2 separate regions of the Homo sapiens genome follow, and region 2 is linked to region 1. The links are contacts of gene promoters, found by promoter capture Hi-C in blood cells and fetal thymus (Javierre and others, 2016). All regions are on one chromosome and are shown on one strand. Each heading gives the region's core, a stretch centred on a gene start or on the middle of the fragment in contact. The rest is flanking DNA. Distances are from core to core; before and after follow the strand shown. Region 1 holds the start of RABL6 (RAB, member RAS oncogene family like 6). Region 2 holds the start of ENTPD2 (ectonucleoside triphosphate diphosphohydrolase 2).

Region 1 (6,987 bases), core at 1-2,500:
ACACACCAGGTCCCTGGGCAGGGCCAGAGGGGAGATGAGACCCTCCTCCCGGCCTACAGAGAGAAGTGGTGCTCTCCAACACCCTCGATTTGAACAGCAAGCTGGCGTACTGCGAGGGGAAGCTCACGTACCTGGCTGACAGAGTGCAGATGGTGTCCAGGACCGAGGAGGTAGCCCCGGGCTGGGAGGAACCTGCACAGCCCACGTCCCCTCAAAGCTGACAGGCTCCCGTTCAGAGTGTCTGCACGGCTGAAGGGGGCTTTGCCCTGCAGGGCGACACAAAGGTGAGGGACACCCTGGAGTCCTCGACTCTGATGGAGAAGTACAACACCAGGATCAGCTTTGAGAACCGGGAGGAGGATATGATCGGTACAGGCCCCGGAACTGGGGCCCGGGCTGCAGGCGGGTGGCTGGAACACAGGTCGGGGTGGCGCCGGCTCCCATCCCACCGGGACATCCTGGAGGGACAGCGGGGCTACAGGGTGCATCAGTTGTACCTGCAGGACTTTAATTGATGGAGGTGACTTAGTGATGCCATGGGGAGGCTAAAGCCACTGAAATACCTTGTTAATTTCTCCGAAAGGAGGAGGCATGCCATGCCAGACGGGCCCGGAGGAGAGGCACCAGGGCTGGAGCAGGGAGGAGCGCGGTGAAGGCCTGGGCCGGAGCTTCCACTGGGGGTTCTGCGGGAAAGGCTAGGCAGGGCAGCGTGAGCCGCTGCGAATGGGCTGGGCTGAGTCCTCCCGGCACGCTGGGGCTGTCCCTGGGGCAAGGCACCTGGCCCGGGTCGGTGGAGGGCGGGGGCGAGAGGCGGGTCGGGCGGCTGCGCCTAGCTGGGCTAGCCCCGTGTGCGAGCCGCCGCCTCCGCCCGCAGACACCTTCCAGTTCCCCGACATGGACCACAGCTACGTCCCTTCGCGCGCCGAGATCAAGAGGCAGGCGCAGCGGCTAATCGAGGGGAAGCTCAAGGCGGCCAAGAAAAAGAAGAAGTAGCCCCGCCGCCCCGCTCCCTGCTTTGCTACACAAATAAACATTTTTCCAGGACTGCTGCGGACGCTGGGGCGACCGGGGTCTCGGAGAGGAGCACGGGACACGCAGGATCGGGGGAGGTTCTGCGTAAGGAGGCAGCCCGGGCCCGGAACTGCGCGCCAGAACCGCGTGCGCATGCGCCGACCGCGCGCGCCGCGCCCCCGCGGCCCTCGCGGCGCCCCGTAGCCGCGCACCCCTCCCGTCCCGCCGAGCCGGCGCCAAGATGGCGGCGCTGACTCCTGGAGAGCGGTCGCGCCGGAGGCCGCGGGGGCCGGAGCGGAGCAGCCGCGGCTGAGGTTCCCGAGTCGCCGCTCGGGGCTGCGCTCCGCCGCCGGGACCCCGGCCTCTGGCCGCGCCGGCTCCGGCCTCCGGGGGGGCCGGGGCCGCCGGGACATGGTGCCAGTCGCACCCCTTCCCCGCCGCCGCTGAGCTCGCCGGCCGCGCCCGGGCTGGGACGTCCGAGCGGGAAGATGTTTTCCGCCCTGAAGAAGCTGGTGGGGTCGGACCAGGCCCCGGGCCGGGACAAGAACATCCCCGCCGGGCTGCAGTCCATGAACCAGGCGTTGCAGAGGCGCTTCGCCAAGGGGGTGCAGTACAACAGTGAGTGCGGCGGGCCGGGGGGGCGCGGGAGCGCCGCGCGGGTCTCCGAACCCAGGCCCCGGGCGCCGCGCGGTGGTGGGTGTCGGTCTCACCTGCTTGCCGGTTGTGGGGTGCGCTGGGCCCGCCGGGCGCTCCGGGAGCGGGGGCGCGGGCCAGGGGACGCGAGGAGAGGCCAGGCCAGGGCCGGGTCCTCGCGGCCCCCGAGCCGCGGGTCGTTTCCCAGCCGCACTCGCCTGCCGCGTGTCGCTCCCGCCGCGCTGTGCAGTGGAGCGGGTCGGCGGCGGCGGGGTTGGCCCGGCTGCCCGGCCCGGGGGTGATTACATAATGCCAAGCAGGGCCCGCCGGCCCGGGGCGCCGCGCCCCCGACGCTCCACGGTGCCCAGCCCCGGGCACCACTCACCTGCAGGAGGTGCGGGGAACCCAGCCGGCCTTGGCGCTTTCAGCGGGATTTTTCTTTGTTGACTTCCTACTGAGTTTGAAGACAGAATATTAGCTACGCCACACATTCTCGCCTTTTTTTTTAAAAGAAGCGTTTGTAAGAGACGTATCTAGAAAAGCTCCAGAAGGCACGGGCTGACTTGCGACTGTAGGAGACATCCCATTTCTCGTAGGAAGGAGGAGTCATTTACGGACTCCTGAGTGCCTGGGACGCTCCATTCCTTTGTTATAAATTGTGTAAATTGTCCTCGACCTCTTATGAGTTTTTCCATCTTGCGGGCTCTTTCCCAGTAGTTTTTGAAAGCTTTTATGTGGTTCCCTGTTTTGACATTGCTTCCCTCTTAGCCATTTCCGTATGTTTCTATGAGGTTTTAGGACGCTACGCCTATCCAGTTTTTTGGTCACTTTAAGGGGAGCCTTAGAGCCTCCGTGATATTTCCATGGTAATGTAGAATTTTAAGAACTAATGATCAGAAAGACTCTTGTGCAGGTTTAAAAGCAAGTTCATGAATTCGCGTGCCGTGTGCACGGAGAGAGGCCGTAGTTCCTGGGGCTGGAGCTAGTCCAGGAGGACAGTGAAGATGTCGCCTTCCTTAGTCCCCCGGCCTGTGAGCAAGAGGAAGCTGCAGACCACTCGGGCCACCCTCACCCAGACACCTTTAGCAGTAAGCAAGATAAAACAACTTCTTAAAGATAAGTCTGAGCATCTAGGTATGAAAGTTGGTGTCCGGGCCGGGCACGGTGGCTCATGCCTGTAATCCCAGCACTTTGGGAGGCCAAGGCGGGCAGATCACGAGGTCAGGAATTCGAGACCAGCCTGGCCAACATAGTGAAACACCGTCTCTACTAAAAATACGAAAAAAAAATTTAAAAGAAAGTTGATGTCCGAACCAAGGGCCGTATTGGCTTTTCTTATACTCTAGAACATACGACGACAAAGAAGATTTTGATGAAGTTCAAATTAGAGTCAGCGTGCTCATCAGAAAGAAAGCGCAGCCAACACGTTTAGGAACAGAAACGGATTATGTTGAAGACAAACAATCCATTGCGTTTGTGTTCAGTAACCCAAGCATCAAAGGAACTTGTGGCTGGGGAGAAGGCTTGACTATTTGAAATCTCAGGACTCCTCTGTCCAGGAGCTCCCAGACTCCCGTGGAGTGGAAGCCTGGGGGCTCGCTGAAGAAGTCACGTGACTGGAACGTGCTTAATGCTTGGCTGTCTGGTAAGGAAAATAAAGTGGTGCATTTTGAATAAAAATAAAAGCTGATTTTAAATGTGTTATAATTGAAACTTTATACATAGCTGGCATTCGGAGAAGAGAATATTGAGTCAAAATAACTGAGTTTACGCCAGTTTTTAGACTCTGCGTTTGGATCCTTTATTTAATTTTATTGCTTACAGTATTGGCTAAGCTCAGTATTAGTCCCTGGGAAATCAGGCCTGGACCTGGAAACTGTTCACCTTCTGAAAAGGCTCCCCGAGGGTCCTGGGCAAGGTCCACCTCATGCACCAGGACCACCCCTGTGTGGTCCTGGGCGAGTGTGACTAAAAAGGGCAATGGGGTCCTTCCAGAGGAGAAAAGCCAGTCTCCAGTACTTGGAGAACAGGTTATGATCTCCTAGAACTGAATGAAAGGTGGTGAGACAGAGAGAAATTTGAATTTGTACCTAAATTACATTTTAGAAAGATGTTATCTTTATAGCTGAATAACATGCAATTTTAAAACTTTTGAGTTTCTGTGTTAGAATAGAAAGTTTCTAGTATTTCTTTTCTTTTCTTTTCTTTTTTGAGACAGAGTTTTGCGTTTTGCTGTGTCTCCCAGGCTGGAGTGCAGTGGCGTGATCTCAGCTCACTGCAAGCTCCTCCTCCCGGGTTCACACCATTCTCCTGCTTCAGCCTCCCGAGTAGCTGGGACTATAGGCACCGGCCACCACGCCCGGCTAATTTTTTGTATTTTTAGTAGAGGCAGGATTTCACCGTGTTAGCCAGGATGGTCTCAATCTCCTGACCTCGTGATCTGCCCGCCTCAGCCTCTCAAAGTGCTGGGATTACAGGCGTAAGCCACCATGCCCGGCTTTCTGGTATTTATTTTCTCAAATATTTTACAGAGCGTAACAGACCAGCAATGTGATCAAGACAGAGTCGAGGGTTTTGGGGGTGAGAGTTTCTGGGAACTGCTGCGGGTTTCCAGGAGTCTGGGCTCTCCTCCTGGGCCCTGCATTTGCTCGGAGTTGCTAGTGGTCCCGGTAGACGTGTGGGACACCCACTGGTTTTAGAATAAAAACTCGAATGAGACATTGGACCATAATGGATGAAAAAGTCAAACTCTGTCAAATATTTGAAGAGATTTATTTTTGAGCTGAATATGAGTGACCATGGCTCGTGACATAGCCCTCAGGTGACCCTGAGGACATGTGCCCAAGGTGGAGGGCACAGCTTGGTTTTATACATTTTAGACATGAGACAGTAATCAAATACATTTAAGATATATGTTGATTTGGTCCACAAAGGCGGGACAACTTGAAGTGGGGGCTTCCAGGTCGGAGGTAGTTTAAAAAAATTGTGTTTTTTTGCCGGGCGCGGTGGCTCACGCCTGTAATCTCAGCACATTGAGAGGCCGAGGCAGGCGGACAACCTGAGGCCAGGAGTTCAAGACCAGCCTGGCCAACATGTCGAAACCCCGTCTCTACTAAAACTATAAAAATTAACCGGGTGTGATGGTGGGTGCCTGTAATCCCAGCTACTCAGGAGGCTGAGGCGGGAGAATCGCTTGAGCCCAAGTGGCAGAAGTTACAGTGAGCTGAGATTGTGCCACTGCACTCCAGCCTGGGTGACAGAGTCAGACCCTGTCTCAAAAAAAAAAAAAAAAACAATTGCACCACCACACCCAGCTAATTTTGGTATTTTTTAGAGAGACAGGGTTTCACCACGTTGCCCAGCTGGGCTCAGACCCCTCTACTCAAGCAGTCCGAACCCCTTGGCCTCCCAAAGTGCTGGGATTACAGGCGTGAGCCACCGCGCCTGGCCAGATTATGTTTCTTATCAGACTTAAAGTCAGTGTTGATGTTAAATGCTGGTGAGCTTTTCCTGAATTCCAGAAGGGAGGAGGCCACAATGAGGCCTGTCTGACTCCCCTCTTCCCATAATGGCCTGAACCAGTCTTTCAGATGAAATTTGGATGGCCCTGGCCTAGAAGAGGAAGTCCATTCAGATGGTTGGCAGGCCTTGGGATTTTAATTTTGGTTTACACAATTTTGAAATTATTTGCATATAAAATTATTAGGAAAATTATTTGAAATTATTTGGAAGAAAGATTGTTGCCTGAGTTGGTCTGTCCCTTTCTACTGTGACTGGACACAAAATATCAGTTGTATTTGGTGCAGAATTTTTCTGTGGAGTTGCTCCTGAGTGAGCATTATTGTGCAGCTCTGATACTGGCCTGGCCCAGGAGCTCGGACAACCAGAGTCCTCTCTGAGTAGACACTGGTGCGAATTTAGAAATGGGACTTAGCAGGCCGGGCACGGTGGCTCACACCTGTAATCCCAGCACTTTGGGAGGCTGAGGTGGGCGGATTACATGAGGTCAGGAGTTCAAGACCAACCTGGCCAACATGATGAAACTCATCTCTACTGAAAATATGAAAATTAGCCAGGTGTGGTGGCGTATGCCTGTAATCCCAGCTACTCGGGAGGCTGAGGCAGGAGAATCGCTTGAACCCGGGAGGCAGAGGTTGCCGTGAGCCAAGATCACACCACTGCGCTCCAGCCTGGGCGACAGAGTGAGACTTCGTCTTAAAAAAAAAAGAAAAGAAAGAAAAGTTTATATGAATATCCAGTCAAAACAAACAAGGAAGGTATTACCCTTGAAATGTTGTCTATACGAATTTCCAAGGAGACCACAGGACTGTAGACTGTCTTGGAATGTCCTCAGAGAGCTCTGTCATTGATCAGGTAACGGAATAAAAACCCCAGCGTCCTTTCTTTCAAATGGGAGAGGGAAAGACAAAGGGACAGAAGCCGTTCAAACTTTGTCTTCTTTCCTTGTGGCTTGTGGTCACCTCTGCCTCCCCAGAAGCTGCCTCGCCCACCAAAGCCTTCCTGGCTTCTGCCACCACCTCATCCTCCAAAGCTTCCTCTACCTCCATCACAACCCCAAAGCCACCTTCGCCCTTAGGTTTGGCCCAGTCCAAGTTACCTTTGTTTCCCTCAATTTCACCATCTTCCGCGGCCTCCTTGGCGCTTTTGGCATCCTCCTCACTGTTGCCATCTACAGAGCCAAAGCCTTTGGGGCACCCGGTTTCCTGGTTGGTGACTACCCTTGCCCAACAAAGCTGTCGAATGACTAAAGCCTCTTCAGTGGTGTCCTCAGACAGGCCTTTGACAGACAGTTTTAGATGGCTGGCTCCTGGCATCAGGTGGTCCTTGCAACTCCAGCCTGATTGCCCTGCCCCCAGTTTCCCTTTTATTACAGGAATTTAAAGCTGCTTTATCATCTTCAAATGAAGCGAACTGTAAGTGCATGCACACCCTTTAGATTTGCCATTTTGGTTCTGGGGCACTTTGATAAAAGTTGCCTTGTCTCAGATTCTTTCTGAAGAGTTTCTTCTGTTGCACTGTAGGAGAGGTTGCTTAAACCAGAGTTTTTGATTCACCCCTCCAAGTGGTCTCTCTAGTCTTGATTTAGACCTTTCTCTCCATGATAGTGCAGGGAAATAGATCGGCCATCCATCTCTGTTCCCTGCGTTTCTTCAGAAGTTTTCTCTGCATTAGCTTCTGTCTTAACCTCAATATAAGCAGTCCCTTTACTCTTCCCATCCTTGCTGACTAATCCAATCTCCACAGCATCTTCAAACACTTTTTTGTTTTTTGAGCCAGAGTCTCGCTCTGTTGCCCAGGCTGGAGTGCAGTGGCCGTGATCTC
Region 2 (7,190 bases), core at 443-2,942, 250 kb after region 1:
CGCACAGCAGTAGGAGGCCGGCGAGGCCCGCGGCGGCCAGCAGCAGCGGCGGCAGCAGTGACCGCACCTTCCCGGCCATGGGCGGGCGGGCGCGCGGGAGGACGATGCGTGGACCCGGAGAGTGCGGGGAGCCGGAGGCGGAGGCGGGCGGGGCCGCGGGACCGCGGGGTAGGGGCCCCGGGGCGGGACGAGGGGCGGGAGGCCGGGCGGGCCCGCCCATCACCGGCCACGCCCACGGGCGGACAGGTTTCGCCTCCGCTCCCAAGCTTCCGCCGTCCGGCCCGCGCAGGTGAGAGACGCGGGCGCGGCTGAGTCACCAGCACCGCCCCCCGGCTCCCGGGTCTGAGCCCGGGCGCCCCGCGGCTATGGCCCACCTTCCCCTTCCCGCCCACTCAGCAAGGGGATCCCCCGGCCGTGGAGGCAGGAGACCTGGCGTGGGGGTGGGCGGGCGAGGCTGGCTCGGAGGGTCCTGTGCTGGAGAGCCGCGCTTTTCCCGGGCCCGGGAAAGGAGGCCAGACTCGCTTGCAGGAATGAGGCACTGTCGGCTGCGGAGCCACGCGGGGCCCGGGCTGGGGACTCAGGAGGAAGCCGAGGGTCAGCACCTGTTTGTGGAGCAGGGCCCTGAGCGCCAACTCCCAGGGCTGGTGAGGACCAGGCTGGCCTGCGGGATGCCCTCCCGGCCAGCAAGGATCCGCCAGCCTGCGGCGCTGAGCCAGCGCAGGTCAGCTCCAGAGACACGCAGCTGACCCAGGCCAGAACTACCCTTGAGGCCCAGTCAGATCCACCTCACCTGGGCCCTGTACTGAGGTGAAGGTGAGGACGCAGGAACGGGGAAGGGGAGGGACGGCCCAGGTCACACCGAGCCGAGAAACAGGAGAAGCAGCACAGACCGGGCCAAAGGTCCATACCTCCCAGCCCAGGGCCTCAGCCGCGCCTGCTGCCCCCTCGGCCTGAGGGGAACAGAGGCTTGGGCTGCGGAGGCCAGAGGAGGCTTCCCCAGGACGGAAACAGGTGGGGCCTCTACGTGGCCTGAAAGGCAAGGAAGAGGGTCCCCAGGCCAAGCTTGGGGTGCGGGTCAGCAACAGGCTTCTGGGGACGGCTGGGGCAGGCGAAGCGCAGCTGGCCCCAGACGCAAGCCCTGCTCCTCCGTCCCACGACATGGCTGGCCTTTCGGCTCTGCAGCCTCACAGGCCCCGCATCCCAGCCCGGCCAGGGGCCACCCCCTTTGCGCCTGCTGCAAAGTGGGAATTCTTGTCCCAATAATTCCAGCCACACAGCGTCAGGGAGCCACGAGGCAAGGCCACCAGGGAGTGCAGGCTGCTGGGGCCCAAAGGGCAGCCCCATGGGGCAGGGTCCAGACCATGCCCGGCCTTCTGGAACGGGCAGTGACAATTGTGCTGGGATTGCTGCCTGGGCTGAGGGTCTGGCGCCACAGGCCCAGTAAAGGCATCTTTCTTCCAGCTCAGGACCCCAAAGGGAGGGGTGGGAACCCTGGGAAGCCTCTCTGCTGCCTCAGCCTCACAGCCCAGCCTGGCGGGGCTCCAGCAGGCAATCTCTGGGTGTTGCCGGTGCTAAGCTCCAGGCCCCAGGCCCCAGTTTCCCCCCACACACCCCAGGCCTTTCTTCCACCCCTGACCGCCCAGAGGAGGGAGAGGCACGCACAGTGCACATCATGCCTGAAAAGGAAGGAACAAAGGCCGCCCAGAGGCAGGGTGCTGCGACCCCCACTGGCCTGCGGTACCCCGCTTCCCTCCAGGCCCAGCGGGGCTTCCTGGTGTTCTGGACTCTTTTCATGGACAAAAAGCTCAAGCCAGGGAGTGGGAGGTCTGCCAGGCCTGAGAGGATGGGGAGGGAGAGGGGAGCTGGACTCTGCCCCGGGGAGACAGGCTCATGGCCGAGTGCCCAGCTTCGCCTGCGGAGGGAGAGGCAGGGAGCCCAGAGCGGCCAGGACAAAGGCTGAGGCTGAGCTCTCTTTGAGACGGAGTGAGGGCGGGGGAACGCCCCTTCCTGGCATGGACTCAGGGACCCTGGAAGGCAGACTTGGGAGAGCGTCAGAGGGAAGCTGGCAGGAGCTGAAGGGGTGGAGGGGCCTCTGGGTGGGGCAGCTCTCGGCTTCCAGGACCCTCTCGGGGATGGGGCCTCCAGATGTGCTGCACATGACCCCGGCTGAGCTGGGAACATGCGGATGCAGAGAGGTTAGGGGAGAACCCCTGGGGGAGGGAACTCGGAGCCTCCCGCCCACGCAGGGCTCAGACCTCCCAGGGAGGGGGGCTTTCCTGAGGCCTGCTGACATCTTGGCTGCCCTGCCTCAGTCTCCACATCAGAAGCTTGTGCTGTGTGGCTCACGTCTGTAATTCCAGCACTTTGGGAAGCTGAGGCAGGTGGATCACTTAAGGTCAGGAGTTCAAGACCAGCCTGGCCAACATGGTGAAACGCCGTCTCTAATAGAAATACAAAAATTAGCCGGTTGTGGGCCGGGCGCGGTGGCTCACTCCTGTAATCCCAGCACTTTGGAAGGCTGAGGCGGGCGGATCATCAGGTCAGGAGATCAAGACCATCCTGGCTAACGCAGTGAAATGCCATCTCTACTAAAAATACAAAAAATTAGCCGGGCGTGGTGGCGGGCACCTGTAGTCCCAGCTACTCGGGAAGCTGAAGCAGGAGAATGGTGTGAACCCGGGAGGCGGAGCTTGCAGTGAGCCAAGATCGCGCCACTGCACTCCAGCCTGGGTGACAGAGCGAGTCAAAAAAAAAAAAAAAATTAGTCGGCTGTAGTGGCAGACACCTGTAATTCCAGCTATTTGGGAGGCTGAGGCAAGAGAATCGCTTGAACCTGGGAGGCAGAGGTTGCAGTGAGCTGAGACTGCACCACTGCACTCCAGCCTGGACGACAGAGCGAGATTCCATCTCAAAAGAAAAAAAAAAAAGAAACTTGTGCTGTGGCCGAAACACCTTGATGGTTTAATTGTGAAAGGCCTTTCACTCACTGCTCCCTTTCTGCAGGTGCTCATTAAGTCATTCAACAAACGCTTGCTGAGTAGTACTCCTGGGTGCCCAAAGCACGCCAGGCTCCATGCATGCACAGGGAGCCCTGTGGGGAGGGCACCCACTGGCCTGGGGAGAGCAGACTTTGCAAAGGCCCACGGGAGGCGGGGAAGCCTGTGCTGTCCTGTTCGAGGTCGGAGACACAACAGAATGGGAGGTGCACATATGCACAGTTGGTAAGAGCAATGCCAGGGTGGCAGCAGGACCCCATTGGTGGTCTCTGATGTGCTGGACGTGCTGTTCTGGGACTTGCTTCTTTCACTCACGTTACGCGTTTGGGATTCACCCTGTTGACACTGAGAGGTGTGGCTTGTTTGTTCCTTGCTGTATTCCATCCTGTGAGTGAGAACATGCAGACGGCGTGTCGCTGCAGCTGGTGAACACACAGTGTCTGGCTTTAGGCTTTGCTGAGATTGCTGCTCTGCACATATACACTCTTTTTTTTAATTTTATTTTTTATCTGAGGTGGAGTCTGGCCCTATCGCTCAGGCTGGAGTGCAGTGGCGCGATCTCAGCTCACTGCAACCTCCACCTCCTGGGTTCAAGCGATTTCCCGCCTCAGCCTCCTGAGCAACTCGGATTACAGGCGCCTATAACCATTCCCCACTAATTTTGTATTTTTAGTAGAGACAGGGTTTCACCATATTGGCCAGGCTGGTCTCAAACTCCTGACCTCAGGCGACCCGCCTGCCTCGGCCTCCCACAGTGCTGGGATGACAGGTGTGAGCCACCGCGCCCGGCCTCTCCGTCTGCGTCGGCCTCCCACAGTGCTGGGGTGACAGGTGTGAGCCGCTGCGCCGGCCGCATGTGTGCTCTTGAGAGCACTTCTCTGGGGAGCATCCCGGATCTGAACTGCTGGTTGTCAGGCAAGTGTGTGTTCTGCTTCTCTAGCAAGTGCCAAATTCTTTTCTGAACGATGGCTCTAGCTGGCACTGTGAGCATTTTATTTCATTTTATCTTATTTTATTTATTTACTTTGAGACAGACTCTTCCTCTGTTGCCCAGGCTGGAGTGCAGTGATGTGATCTCGGCTCACTGCAATCTCCGCCTCCTGGTTCAAGCAATTCTTCTGACTCAGCCTCCCAAATAGCTGGGACTACAGCCGTGTGCCACCAGGCTAATTTTTTTGCATTCTAATAGAGACGGGGTCTCACTGTGTTGCTCCCAGGCTGGTCTCAAACTCCTGAGCATCCGCCCATCTCGGCCTCCCAAAGTGCTAGGATTACAGGCATGAGCCACCGTGCCCAGCCTAATTTTTGTATGTTTAGTAGAGACGGGGTTTTGCCATGTTGGCCAGGCTGATCTCGAACTCCTGACCTCAAGTGATCCACCTGCCTTGGCCTCTCAAAGTGCTGAGATTATAGGCGTGAGCCACCAAACCCAGCCCCCCATCTCCTTTTATTGGAGACCGGGGCCTCACTATGTTGCCCAGGCTGGTAAATTCCTGGCCTCAAGCAGTCCTCCTGAGTAGCTGGGGACTAGAGGTGTGTGCCACACCCTGCCTGGCTTTGGCCTTCTTTGATTTTGAAACCGGCTCAATTGTCCCGTGGAACTGATGTTTATGGTTTCTTTGAATAAACACAGAAATTGATCCTCCTAGTCTTAAAATTTGAGAAAGTGACATTTGTCCTATTTGAGTTCCTTTCTCAGAAAACCAACCATGAGGCCCCCAGATAGAATGAAAGAGCTAAAACTCACCAGATCACGGTATCTTGACAATGAGACACCAGACCCCCCAGCTGTCAAGATTGCCTGGCCAACCACCAGCTTCCTGTTGACCAACTCCTCTTCTTCAGCTGCCCCTAATTCCTGTTTTCTCACACCTAGTTACGTGGCTTCCCTGCTCTATAAACCCCTAATTTCAGTGGGTCAGGGAGACGGATTTGAGACTGAGCACCCATCTCCTTGGCTGCGGCCGGCTTAAAGCCTTCCCCCTGGCGGTGCTCCTGGTCTCCGTGATTGGCTTTCTGTGCAGCGAACAGCAGGACCTGGACTGAACCCCTGGTGTTTTGGTAACAGTCTCTCCCCTCCCCTGCCACCTGCTGCCTCTTCCCTGTAAGTAGGTAACAGGCCTTTGGTTTGTTTGTTTTAGCAACAGGGTCTTGCTCTATTGCCCAGGCTGGACTGCAGTGGTGCAATCATAGCTCATTGTGGCCTCAAACTCTTGGCCTCGAATGGTCCTCCTGCCTCAGCCTCTGCAGTAGCTGGGACCACAGGTCCACACCATGGCTGGCTTCCCTTTGCCTTTTTTTTTTTTTTGAGACAAGGTGTTGCTGTGTCACTCAGGCTAGAGTACGGTGGCTCAATCTCAGCTCACTGCAACCTCTACCTCCCGTGCTCAAGGGATTCTTGTGCATCAGCCTCGTGAGTAGCTGGGACTACAGGCATGTGCCACCACACCCAGCTCATTTTTGTATTTTTAGTGGAGACGGGGTTTCCCCATGTTGGCCAGGCTGGTCTTAAACTCCTGGCCTCGGGTGATCCACCTTCCTCGGCCTCCCAGAGTGCTGGGATTACAGGTGTGAGCCACCGTGGCTGGCCTCCTCTATGGTTTTGATATCATGATGGTCTGACCTGTAATCCCAGTACTTTGGGAGACCGGCCTAGGCAACATTGTGAGACCTCGTCTCTACCAAAAACAAACAAACAAAAAAATTGCTTTAATTTTTTTTAAATTAGCGTAATATTTGGATTATCTGTTCCTGCAATTTATGGTAGAACTTGCCTGAAAAGGCCGGGTGCGGTGGCTCACGCCTGTAATCCCAGCACTTTGGGAGGCCGAGGCGGGCGGATCACGAGGTCAGGAGATTGAGACCATCCTGGCTAACACGGTGAAACCCCGTCTCTAGTAAAAATACAAAAAATTAGCCGGGCGTGGTGGTGGGCGCCTGTAGTCCCAGCTACTTGGGAGGCTGAGGCAGGAGAATGGCGTGAACCCAGGAGGAGGAGCTTGCAGTGAGCCGAGATCGAGCCAGTGCACTCCAGCCTGGGCGAAAGAGCGAGACTCTGTCTCAAAAAAAAAAAAAAAAAAACTTGCCTGAAAAAAAAAACACCTAGGCCCAATTTTTCTGTGGGAAGTTTTTTGTTTGTTTTGTCTTTAAGAGATGGGTTAGAGACCAGACTTACTATGTTGCCCAAGCTAGACTCAACCTCCTGAGCTTCAAAAATCCTCCCACCTCAGCCTCTGGAATAGCTGGGACTACAGGCATATGCCACTGTGCTGGCTTCTACAGTACTGTTTCCATTTCTTTGATAGTTACAGGGCCAGACCCCTATTAACTATTCTTCCTGAGCCAATTTTGTATTTTTTTCTTTTCTTTCTTTCTTTTTTGTTTTTTGAGATTTGTTATTATTATTTTTAGAGACAGGGACTCACTCTGTTGCCCAGGCTGGAGTGCCGTGGTGCAATCACAGGTCACGGCAACCTCCGTCTCCTGAGCTCACGTGATCCTCCCACTTCAGCCTCCCGAGTAGGTGGGACCACAGGGGCACATCACCACACACAGACAATTTTTTTATTTTTTGTAGAGGTGGAGGGTCTCCCTGTGTTGCCCAGGCTGGTTCCAAACTCCTGGGCTCGGGCAGTCCTCCCGCGTCAGCTTCCCAAAGTGCTGGGATTACAGGCGTAAGCCTGCCCATGTGGCTGATTTTGTATTTTTCTAGGAAGTTACCCACTCCAGCTGAATTGGCATAATCTCATTTAAAATATCCTCTTAGAATCAGCTTAACTTCTGCAGCATGTGTGACTATTTTGCTCTTTTTTATTCCTAATATCATTTATTTGTGCCTTATCTCTTTTTTCTTGATTAATTTAGCCAGAAATTTTGTGTACTTTTTCTCAACCAAGTTTCTGTCATGTTTGTTTCCTATTTTACTATTCTTTTCATGAAAGAGGAAAAGCTATTTATACCTTTATTGGTGTGTGTGTGTGTGTGTCTGTTTGAGACAAGGTCTCACGCTACCACCCAGGCGGGAGTGCAGTGATGTAATCTTGGCCCACAGCAGCCTCGACCTCCCAGGCTCAAGCAATCCTCCCACCTCCACCTCCTGAGTAGCTGGGACTACAGGCACGCGCCACCACACCGGCTAATTTTTAAATTTGACACATAAGTTGTTTAGACGTGTCTGCTTTAATATCCAAAAGT

What was found. Contacts are between HindIII fragments. The CHiCAGO score rates a contact against its expected background, and 5 or more counts as called.
Region 2: a contact is called between a fragment that was not itself captured here and the fragment with the promoter of RABL6 in region 1, in 1 of 17 cell types (endothelial precursors). The highest score is 5.1, in endothelial precursors.

Annotation. Positions count from the first base shown.
Region 1 is chr9:136,806,698-136,813,684 of GRCh38, forward strand. RABL6 (RAB, member RAS oncogene family like 6) reads left to right here and starts at 1,251. Exons shown (of 15, transcript NM_024718.5): 1 at 1,251-1,629. The coding sequence starts at 1,500. It overlaps CCDC183 (coiled-coil domain containing 183), which reads left to right. Exons shown (of 14, transcript NM_001039374.5): 12 at 60-170; 13 at 273-369; 14 at 875-1,044. The coding sequence ends at 993. It overlaps CCDC183-AS1 (CCDC183 antisense RNA 1), which reads right to left and starts at 2,151. Exons shown (of 5, transcript NR_024580.1): 1 at 2,030-2,151; 2 at 132-505. It also overlaps the pseudogene LOC100422233 and the pseudogene NCLP1. RefSeq lists enhancers at 195-790, 791-1,387 and silencers at 663-892, 1,093-1,262, 1,313-1,372, 1,393-1,522, 1,533-2,062. The HindIII fragment of the contact is 3,360 bases long and covers 1-2,369 here.
Region 2 is chr9:137,053,919-137,061,108 of GRCh38, forward strand. ENTPD2 (ectonucleoside triphosphate diphosphohydrolase 2) reads right to left here and starts at 143. Exons shown (of 9, transcript NM_203468.3): 1 at 1-143. The coding sequence starts at 79. RefSeq lists silencers at 129-198, 299-378. The HindIII fragment of the contact is 1,265 bases long and covers 1,061-2,325 here.